3 separate regions of the Homo sapiens genome follow, and regions 1 and 2 are each linked to region 3. Evidence: promoter capture Hi-C in 16 types of primary human blood cells and fetal thymus (Javierre and others, 2016). All regions are on one chromosome and are shown on one strand. The core of a region is centred on a gene start or on the middle of the fragment in contact, and the rest is flanking DNA. Distances in the headings are between cores, read along the strand shown.

Evidence for each region. The method cuts DNA at HindIII sites, captures the fragments that hold promoters and counts their contacts. A CHiCAGO score of 5 or more calls a contact.
Region 1: a fragment that was not itself captured here is called in contact with the fragment with the promoter of MRPL42 in region 3 in 15 of 17 cell types (total B cells, naive CD4 T cells, fetal thymus and 12 more); the score reaches 10.8 in total B cells.
Region 2: a fragment that was not itself captured here is called in contact with the fragment with the promoter of MRPL42 in region 3 in 4 of 17 cell types (naive B cells, erythroblasts, total B cells and 1 more); the score reaches 6.4 in naive B cells.

The regions. Positions count from the first base shown.
Region 1 is chr12:92,986,415-92,989,114 of GRCh38, reverse strand. No RefSeq gene overlaps it. Among named protein-coding and RNA genes, the nearest start is that of LINC02413, 3.0 kb to the left of the region's middle. RefSeq lists an enhancer at 826-875. The HindIII fragment of the contact is 1,019 bases long and covers 813-1,831 here.
Region 2 is chr12:93,096,920-93,099,728 of GRCh38, reverse strand. The region is part of intron 3 of LOC643339 (a long non-coding RNA gene); the gene reads left to right. LOC105369908 (a long non-coding RNA gene) reads right to left here. Exons shown (of 4, transcript NR_188219.1): 3 at 326-396. Among named protein-coding and RNA genes, the nearest start is that of LINC02412, 76 kb to the left of the region's middle. RefSeq lists an enhancer at 1,147-1,396. The HindIII fragment of the contact is 585 bases long and covers 976-1,560 here.
Region 3 is chr12:93,466,176-93,468,875 of GRCh38, reverse strand. It overlaps MRPL42 (mitochondrial ribosomal protein L42), which reads right to left and starts at 1,362. Exons shown (of 6, transcript NM_014050.4): 1 at 1,322-1,362. RefSeq lists enhancers at 1,141-1,410, 1,471-1,530. The HindIII fragment of the contact is 2,939 bases long and covers 1-1,581 here.

The sequences.
Region 1 (2,700 bases), core at 73-2,572, 480 kb after region 3:
TCCATTTTACATAGATGAATAATGATTAAAAATAGCAAAAGTAGGATTAGATGAACACCTGGGATGAAGCAAATCCTTAAAGGAAAATAATATGATCTCAGGATCTTGAAAACATGTTTGCAAGATACATTTTTCCTTGAGATTAAAATCTTAGACTTTTGTTATCTCTTCCAAATGAACCATTTAATCAATGAGACAGTTTATTGGACAAATAGATGTTTTCCTTGCACTGTGCCAAAAAACAGATTTGATTGATTTTACAATTAAATTGAGGGAAGTGGCTGATAGTTTTTGCAAACTCATTCCTTGCCCTTTATTGATTTTTGTTTAAAGTTTAGCCATTGAACATTACAATAAAGTAACTAAGCAAGCCACCTTGAACTGACAAAACAAGGGCACTCACTAAGTGAAAACACCACACATAATGATAAGACCTGTCAGAGCACTTATGGATTCTGCATCTGATCACTGGAATATGACGTCTAGAGTACTAGGATTAAGAATCTCAGCCTTGAAGTTAAAAAAAAAAAAAAAAAAAGGACTCTTAACCTTTTCCTGGCACAGTGGCTCATGCCTGTAATTCCAACACTTTGGGAGGCCAAGGCTGGAGGACTGCTTGAGGCCTGGAGTTTAAGACCAGGCTGGGCAACATAGTGAGACCCCTCCCCTTCCCATCTCTACAAAATAATAAATAAATAAATAAATAAATAAATAAATAAATAAATAAATAAATAAAAGAATCCCAGCCTTGAGGTTAGCTTTGGACTATCAAAGCTGCCTCAACTATTGCTCATTTAGAGAGCTCAAAAGCTTTTTTAAGAACTCGCTTATTTGTTTCATTTCCTCTTCTGAAGATTTTTTTTGCAGATCCAGACTTTGAAGAGGCTCCTCCCTCCTGCCAGGCTCACTTGCCCTTGTCCTTGCTGTGACAAATTACATATTTCAAAACTCTCAAGTAGTGCCCCGCTTCTGTCCCAACGCTACCACCACCATGCATATCCCTTGCTGAACTCTGAAACCAAGACTCAGTTTCAGGAAACACAGCTGTCAGAACACTCCTCCAGTTACAGAGTCTACAGGCATCTCACACTAGGTCTCCAGGTCCCCATGTCCCAGCATGAAGTGGGGGTGGAATGTGGCAGAGGCCTGTCACCTCTCCTCCCTCCAGGGCTGGCAACAACTTCCCCCGACCTGGGTCTTCTGTTTCACAACAGATTCAGTCTTTTCAACTTCTGGATGCCTCTCTTGGTAGCTCACACCTGCAATCCAAGCACTCTGAGGGGCAGAGGATCCTTTGAGCCTCCGAGTTCAAAATCAGGCCAGTCAACATAGTGATACCCCTTCTCTATCAAAAATAAGAACTAAAAAAACTTTTTAAATGGATGCTTCTCTTAGCTTAGCTTCTCTTTGCATTTGAAAAATGATGCCAATTCTTTTCCTCAGGGGACGTCTTTGAATGCCTCTGGCACTTTCACAGATTCCTCCTTTTTTTTTTTTTATGAAGCAAAATGTGGCAATTTAGACGTTTCATTAGTTGTTACTAAGCTGTGTCTCTGCTTGTTTTGTAAACTCTTTCCCAGACCCAGTGGAAAAGCGCATGCACTTCTTTTACTTTTTTGAAGAGAACTAGCACCCTCTGTAGGCCAATCTTGTTTATTAATAGTTTCTAGTGCCAGTGCCTAAGGCAAAAAAATTGCATTTGTCAAACCTATCTATGAAAATCCCTTAAATTATCAGGAAGCATAAAAACCAAGAATTAGTTTCTTTTGTTTCTGTTTTGGTCAGTGTCTCCCTTTTTTGGAGTAGTGGATTTCAACAGGGGAGGGAAGCTTAAATAAAAAGAGAGTCTTTTTCTCTACCTCTCTTTTTGTCTTTTCTGCCACGTGCTTATGTGGAGAAGCTTGTATTCTTCAATTTCCATATAATATATTCATTCACTCAGAAATGTTTATTGAGTCAACTACCTACCAAGCACAATACAGATTCTGATACAGAGAGATCCCTGCTCTCATGGAGCTTACATTCTAATAAGGAAAGAAGATTACCAGCTAGATTTCAAGAAATGCTTCTTCGGAGAATAATAGATACTCTGAGCATAATAAAATGAGAATGGTGTAGAGAGTGATAGGGCAGTGGGGTAAGCTGTATTAAATAGAATAGTCATGGTGGGCCTCCAGAAGGAGGTGATTTTTGGCAGAGATTTGAATGGAGAGGAGCCGGATTCATAAATTCTGTGCTGGGGTGTGACCACAGCAGTCTGGCTTGCCAAATCTACTCCTAATCTCTACATTTACTGCCTCCCACATGTTGTATTTTGGCTACACCTCATTAGTCCCCAAAAAGTAGATTACGAGGTGGGAGGATCACTTAAGGCCAGGAATTTGAGACTAGCCTGGGCAATATAGTGAGACTCCATCTCTAATTTATGAAAGAGAGAGAGAGAGAGAAAGCAAAAAAAAAAAAAAAAAAAAAAAAGGCTGGACATGGTGGCTTCACCTGTGATCCCAACATTTTAGCAGGGGCAAGGCAGGAGGATTGCTTAAGACCAGGAGTTAAAGAACAGCCTAGGCAACATAGTCATACTCTGTCTCTATTATTTATTTATTTATTTTTTGAGATAGAGTCTCGCTCTGTCACCCAGGCTAGAGTGCAATGGTGTGATCTCGGCTCACTGCAACCTCTGCTTCCCGAGTTCAAGCG
Region 2 (2,809 bases), core at 19-2,518, 370 kb after region 3:
CAATGAGTACCAACAAAGTAACATGGAAATGTTACGGGAAGGCAACGAGAACACAGAGAAGCCACAATTAAAATAATAGTTCGGTAAAACAGAAAGTCACAACTAAAGACTGAGAGACCGAGTTTCTTTGTGAACAAACAGTGAAGCCTCTTCTTCTTGTTAAGGAAATCCTCCATCATCACTGACGTTTCTTTCTTGAGTTAAAATGTTTTCGTCTCTGTTTCAAAATAGTCCCTTTATTTCTATGCTATATTTTGAGCATATTTTTATCTTTCCGGGAAGACAGTGGGTGAGAAAAATGTTCTTTCTAGAGAAAACTACTCACCTTTTCTCATTTGTTCATTAAAAGCAGGATTTTTAAAGTGATATATCCAGGCCATCCCATAATAGATTTCCCTGGAAGCAAGTATGCAAATGAAAGTTTGAGGTGAAGTCAGTTCTTGAGTCCCACAAGCTCTAATGTTCTTATAAATATTTCACTACACTCTAATAAAATCTCTCTGTTTTCCTAGGATGGATGATAACATAAGTTCCTCACCACTTGCAGCAACTTCTCTGAGATCATGAAAGAAATTAAGCCTTGATACATTGACGGCTGCTATTAAAGAGCTAGCTTCAAAACCATCAATTACCCTCAGCCCCACCTTAGAAGTATTAAGTGAAAGCCATCAGGCAGATTTATAATTAGAGATTGAAAATGCTGACCAGGGAGCTCACAGGGCCTTTCAAAATGCTGTCGGGAACTTGCTCAATTTTACAAGGCTATTGGAAGAACATAATTAAAGTCAACAAGGGGGCAAGAAACTTTAAGAATTTCAAGGTGGGAGAAGGGTAGCAGCTAGAAATCATTTTGATGAGAGGATTGTCCCCAAAGTTCTCCTGTGAGAACTTCAAGGAAAACTGCTAGAACGTCAGGTTAAATGACAATAGAGTTTCCTTTTGTATCAAACCTTATAGATGCGGAGTTAAGAAGCTTAATTCCACTGTGTAGAAGAGCAGAACACTAGTGCCCATGTGGGAGTTATTTCCTGGTTTGAAGAATTAGAAAGCAGGGTCCAAGCACATGCTTATGAAGTTGTGGAAAATTTGCTACGACTTAATAAGGTGGTGTGGTTTCCATTTCTGTCACCTTGAATAAGAGGCTTGTGATTTTTCAGCACATGAGGTTTGTAACACACAACTGTGTATGGAAGACCTACTCTGTGCCAGGCACCATAATGGTATGGGAAGACAAAGACCAGCTTTGCCCTCATGGAGCTCTGGTTCTAATGAAAGAAGGAAAACAAGTCCATGGGAAAGTGATTGAGATGAATGAAGGGTGTTTGGGATCAGAGGAGAAGGGCAAGTATAGCAAGAGATGTTTCTGTTTGTGTGGAGAGTGCTATGTCCGTGGTACACCAGAGGCTGTGCAGACTGGTTGAGGACTTCCTCTTCTGGATGGTAAGGCTGAGCAGAGGCAACAGAAAGGCACTAAGGAGAAAAATGGCTTCCCTTTAGTTTTACCTCCTTTCCTTTTCAGTGGCGCCCTCTAGTGGAAGTGGCAAAGAGCCAAGGGAAGCTTAAATATGTAACTGACTTCTTTTTATTTTATTTTTTTTTTTTTTAATTATTATTATTATACTTTAAGTTTTAGGGTACATGTGCACAATGTGCAGGTTAGTTACATATGTATACATGTGCCATGCTGGTGTGCTGCACCCATAGTAACTGACTTCTAAAACATACATTCACTGACAAAATGATGGTGAACAATTCGTTCTGTGTAAGTAAGACGTAGGCATCTCCATATTGTAACACTGGAGAGGAGAAAAACCAAAGCCAACATAGAGCCCTTGATATCCCCTCGGTAGTCAGGACCTAGGGGTTTACAGTAAGGAGCAGCAGGCAACAACATTAACCTTCTAACAGCAAGCTATCAAAATGAACTTGAAATAATGCACTTAGTTCCATGTAGTCCTTAACCTCCCTGTGAGAAACCTGCACATGCCTTGCTTCCTAATTCTTCTTCTGGAGCTCAGGGCCAGGATTGGTAGTGCTGCATATAGAGCTGTGTTGGGAAGAACTGTAAGACTCAATGAAGGAAGAGTGTAGTGATCAATTAGTGATGTCTGCCAAGAGTATGGGAAGGGATGGGGACAGCACATGTGCTATGTATTTGCCAACCCTGAACTGGGGCATATTTTCAGTAAGCTGTCTCTGCCATGGAACTGTAGTGTACAAAGCTAACTAGTATTAATGAATACTAGTTACTAGTACTAGTATTCACTTGTAACTTCTCCAGCATGAGATAATAGTGCCTTTGCTGACCTTCAGTGAAAATTTTCACAGACTTTACCAGTAATTTTCATAGATGACAGACACACTTTGGTAGATATTAATAGTCTGGGGATTAGATACTAGGCTGGTGCAAAAGTAATTGCTGTTTTTGCCATTGCTTTTAATGGCAAAAACTGCAATTACTTTTGCACCAAATAGATACACTCCACTGTGGAAGAGAGATAGTTCGTTTGGATTTTTCATATCTAGAGGATATATGCTTCAAGACCTTTAAATTCTCCATGTTGATACACAACAAATATCCTTCTCATTGCTAATCTGATTCCTTGTTTCTGGGAAGGAAGAATCCTGGTTAATGAATACCAATATCATTGTTACTGGGAAGATATTCCATCAGTAGGATAATGATAGTATCTCCTTGATAATAAGTTGACATTTTGGGTTACATGCCAATTCTTGGTAACCGTAAATTATAAAGAGACTGATCATTCTTGCAAGTTTGGTTAGCTAAGTTTCTCAGTTTGTTTACCCA
Region 3 (2,700 bases), core at 113-2,612:
CACAGAGTATTCATTCTTTTAATGCTAGTGTGGCTGTGTACACCCTCCAAGGTTCCATACACAAGATACTACATCATTTACAGTACTATCCTGTTTCTGATTAAATGAAATAGTTGTCTGCCCTGAGCCATTAATAATAATAATAATAATAAAGAAATATCAAACAAGGCCTATCCTTAGCCTATTACTCAATTGGAGGAACTCATAAATGCCCTCAAGTCCCAGATAAAATTTCACCATCTTATATGTGTACAAAGTCTTTAACTTTCCAACGTACTTTCACCACCATTTCATTTTGCTCTCGTATTAATCATGTGAGGTATCTTTATTCTGATTCATGAAGAAACTAAAGTACAAAATTTAAACGTCTTGCTTCCAAGGACTTTAGAGTCAGTCACTGCCAAATTGGGAAACTTTAAACAAGTCATTAACTAAACGATCCTCAGTTTCTCCAATGACAAAATGGGGAAAACCACAATCTTCATGGCCTGTTGTGAATAAATGACAAATAACCATTGTTAAATCTTGTTTTTAATAGTCTTCAATGAGTATCCGTGCCCTTCCCCCCAATAGTGATAAAAGAGAATTAGGACACAGGCCCTCTTATTTGCTAGTCTAAACCACTCACACTGATACCTTGCACTGCCAGTACATTAACACCGTTAACCCTGAGCTCATAGGTGTGCTTTTTAGTTTACAACCCACTTTCATATACAATATGTGCTCTGACTTTCACAAGTGTGTGAAGCAGCATCTCCATTTCAGATTAAGAACAAAGGCTCAGAGAGGTCAATCGATTACTTGCTCAGTATATCGCTGCTTAATACATGCGTGGGACGTAAACCCATGACTTCTGACCACGAATAAAACATCTTGGGGGAAATTAGGTCCCCTCTGTCCGAAGCCCAGAGAAAAGCACGCCCTGCTGGGAGTCAGATTATTCACCCCAGGAAGATCATTTCAGAGATCAAGTCCCTCAGCCCGGAATTCAACCCCAAAACAAAAGCTACAGAGCCTCTGAGGGTCAGAGGTTTGAGGAACAGGCTACCAAGAGCACCAGAACTCTTCGACCTAAAGGAGTCCCTAGAGCCACAAGCTGCATCACCTCCCCACGGGCGTCCGCCAGGGAACAAAGGGGGCGCTATAAGAAACGCGCAGCCACATGCCGGCTCTTCTGCAGGAAGGACAAAGGCTGGGGATGCAGGCAACCTCGCCCTGCCGGGAACGACAGGCGGGAGACCTCTACAACTGCCGACCAACACTGTGGGACTGCCCAGTTTCGAGGAAGTCCTCGACAGGAGGAGTAGAGGGAAGCGGTTACCTTGACGGCTTCTCACCACGAACCCGCCATCTTGTTTCAATCCTGGTCCCACGAAACAGCGCTGCGCGCGCCGTCCCAGCCCGCGGGGCATTCTGGGAAATGTAGTCTCCGCGGGAAAGCGGCCCGGGTGCAGAGAGAAAGGGAGGATTGTTGCTATGGACTTTTACCTTTAGTTGGGGAAGCGTGGCCGCAGTGTTACTAAGGTGCCCAGAAAAACAAAATCACTGCCCCAAACACATACCCTTAGAAAGTAACAAGCTTTTTTTTTTTTTTTTTTTTGTGAGGCAGTCTCATTCTGTCACCCAGACTGGAGTGCAATGGCTCCCTCACGGCTCACTGCAGCCTCTACCTCCTGGGCCCAAGAGAGCCTCCCACCTCAGCCTCCTGAGTAGCTGGTACTACAGGCGCACACCACCACACCCAGCTAATTTTTTAATATTTTTGTAGAGACGAGGTCTCGGTATGTTGCCCAGGCTTGTCTCAAGCAATCCTCCTGCCTCGGCGTCCCAAAGTGCTGGAATTACAGGCATGAGCCACCATGCAAACCTATAAGTACTTTTTAAAAAAATTATGTTAATATTCAGAGAAATCGTAGATTGCTCTTTAGTAGATGAGTTAAAGTTTCCCAGGGGAAGAGACATTCCAGAGAAGCCCTGAAATGTGGAGGCTAGGATTTGGACGTTTGAAATCAGAACCTGAAGAGAACCTCCACTCTGAAAACCTGGCACTGTGCCCTCAGAACTGTGCTGGCTACCTATTATGGGAGGAAGTAAATATGCAGAATCTTGGACCTCGCTTTCCATCTTAGGAGGAAGGAAAGACCTCTGGGCCTTTGCACTCTCTGTTCCCATTGCCAGCAATGTGCTTCTCTGACCTCTTCTCATGACCTTACAGGTCTTTCTCAAATATCATCTTAGAAAGGACCACACCATTAAAATAGCCTCACCCACCCTTATTCCATGCCCCGCTTTATTTTCCTTCAGAATATTTACCATTACCTGACTTTATATTGATTATTTGTTTGCTCGTTGAATGTCTCTTTCTTTTTTTTTTTTTTTTTGAGACGGAGTCTTGCTCTATCGCCCAGGCCGGAGTGCAGTGGCATGATCTCAGCTCACTGCAACCTCCGCCTCTCAGCTTCAAGCGATTCTCCTGCCTCAGCTTCCTAATTAGCTGGGATTACAGGTGGCCACCACCACGCCCAGCTAATTTCTGTATTTTTAGTAGAGATGGGGTTTCGCCATGTTTGCCCGGCTGATCTCGAACTCCTTACCTCAGGTGATATGCCCACCTCGGCCTCTCAAAGGGCTGGATTACAGGCGTGAGCCACCACACCCAACCTCGTTTAATGTCTCTTATGCTGGATAATGTAAGCTCCT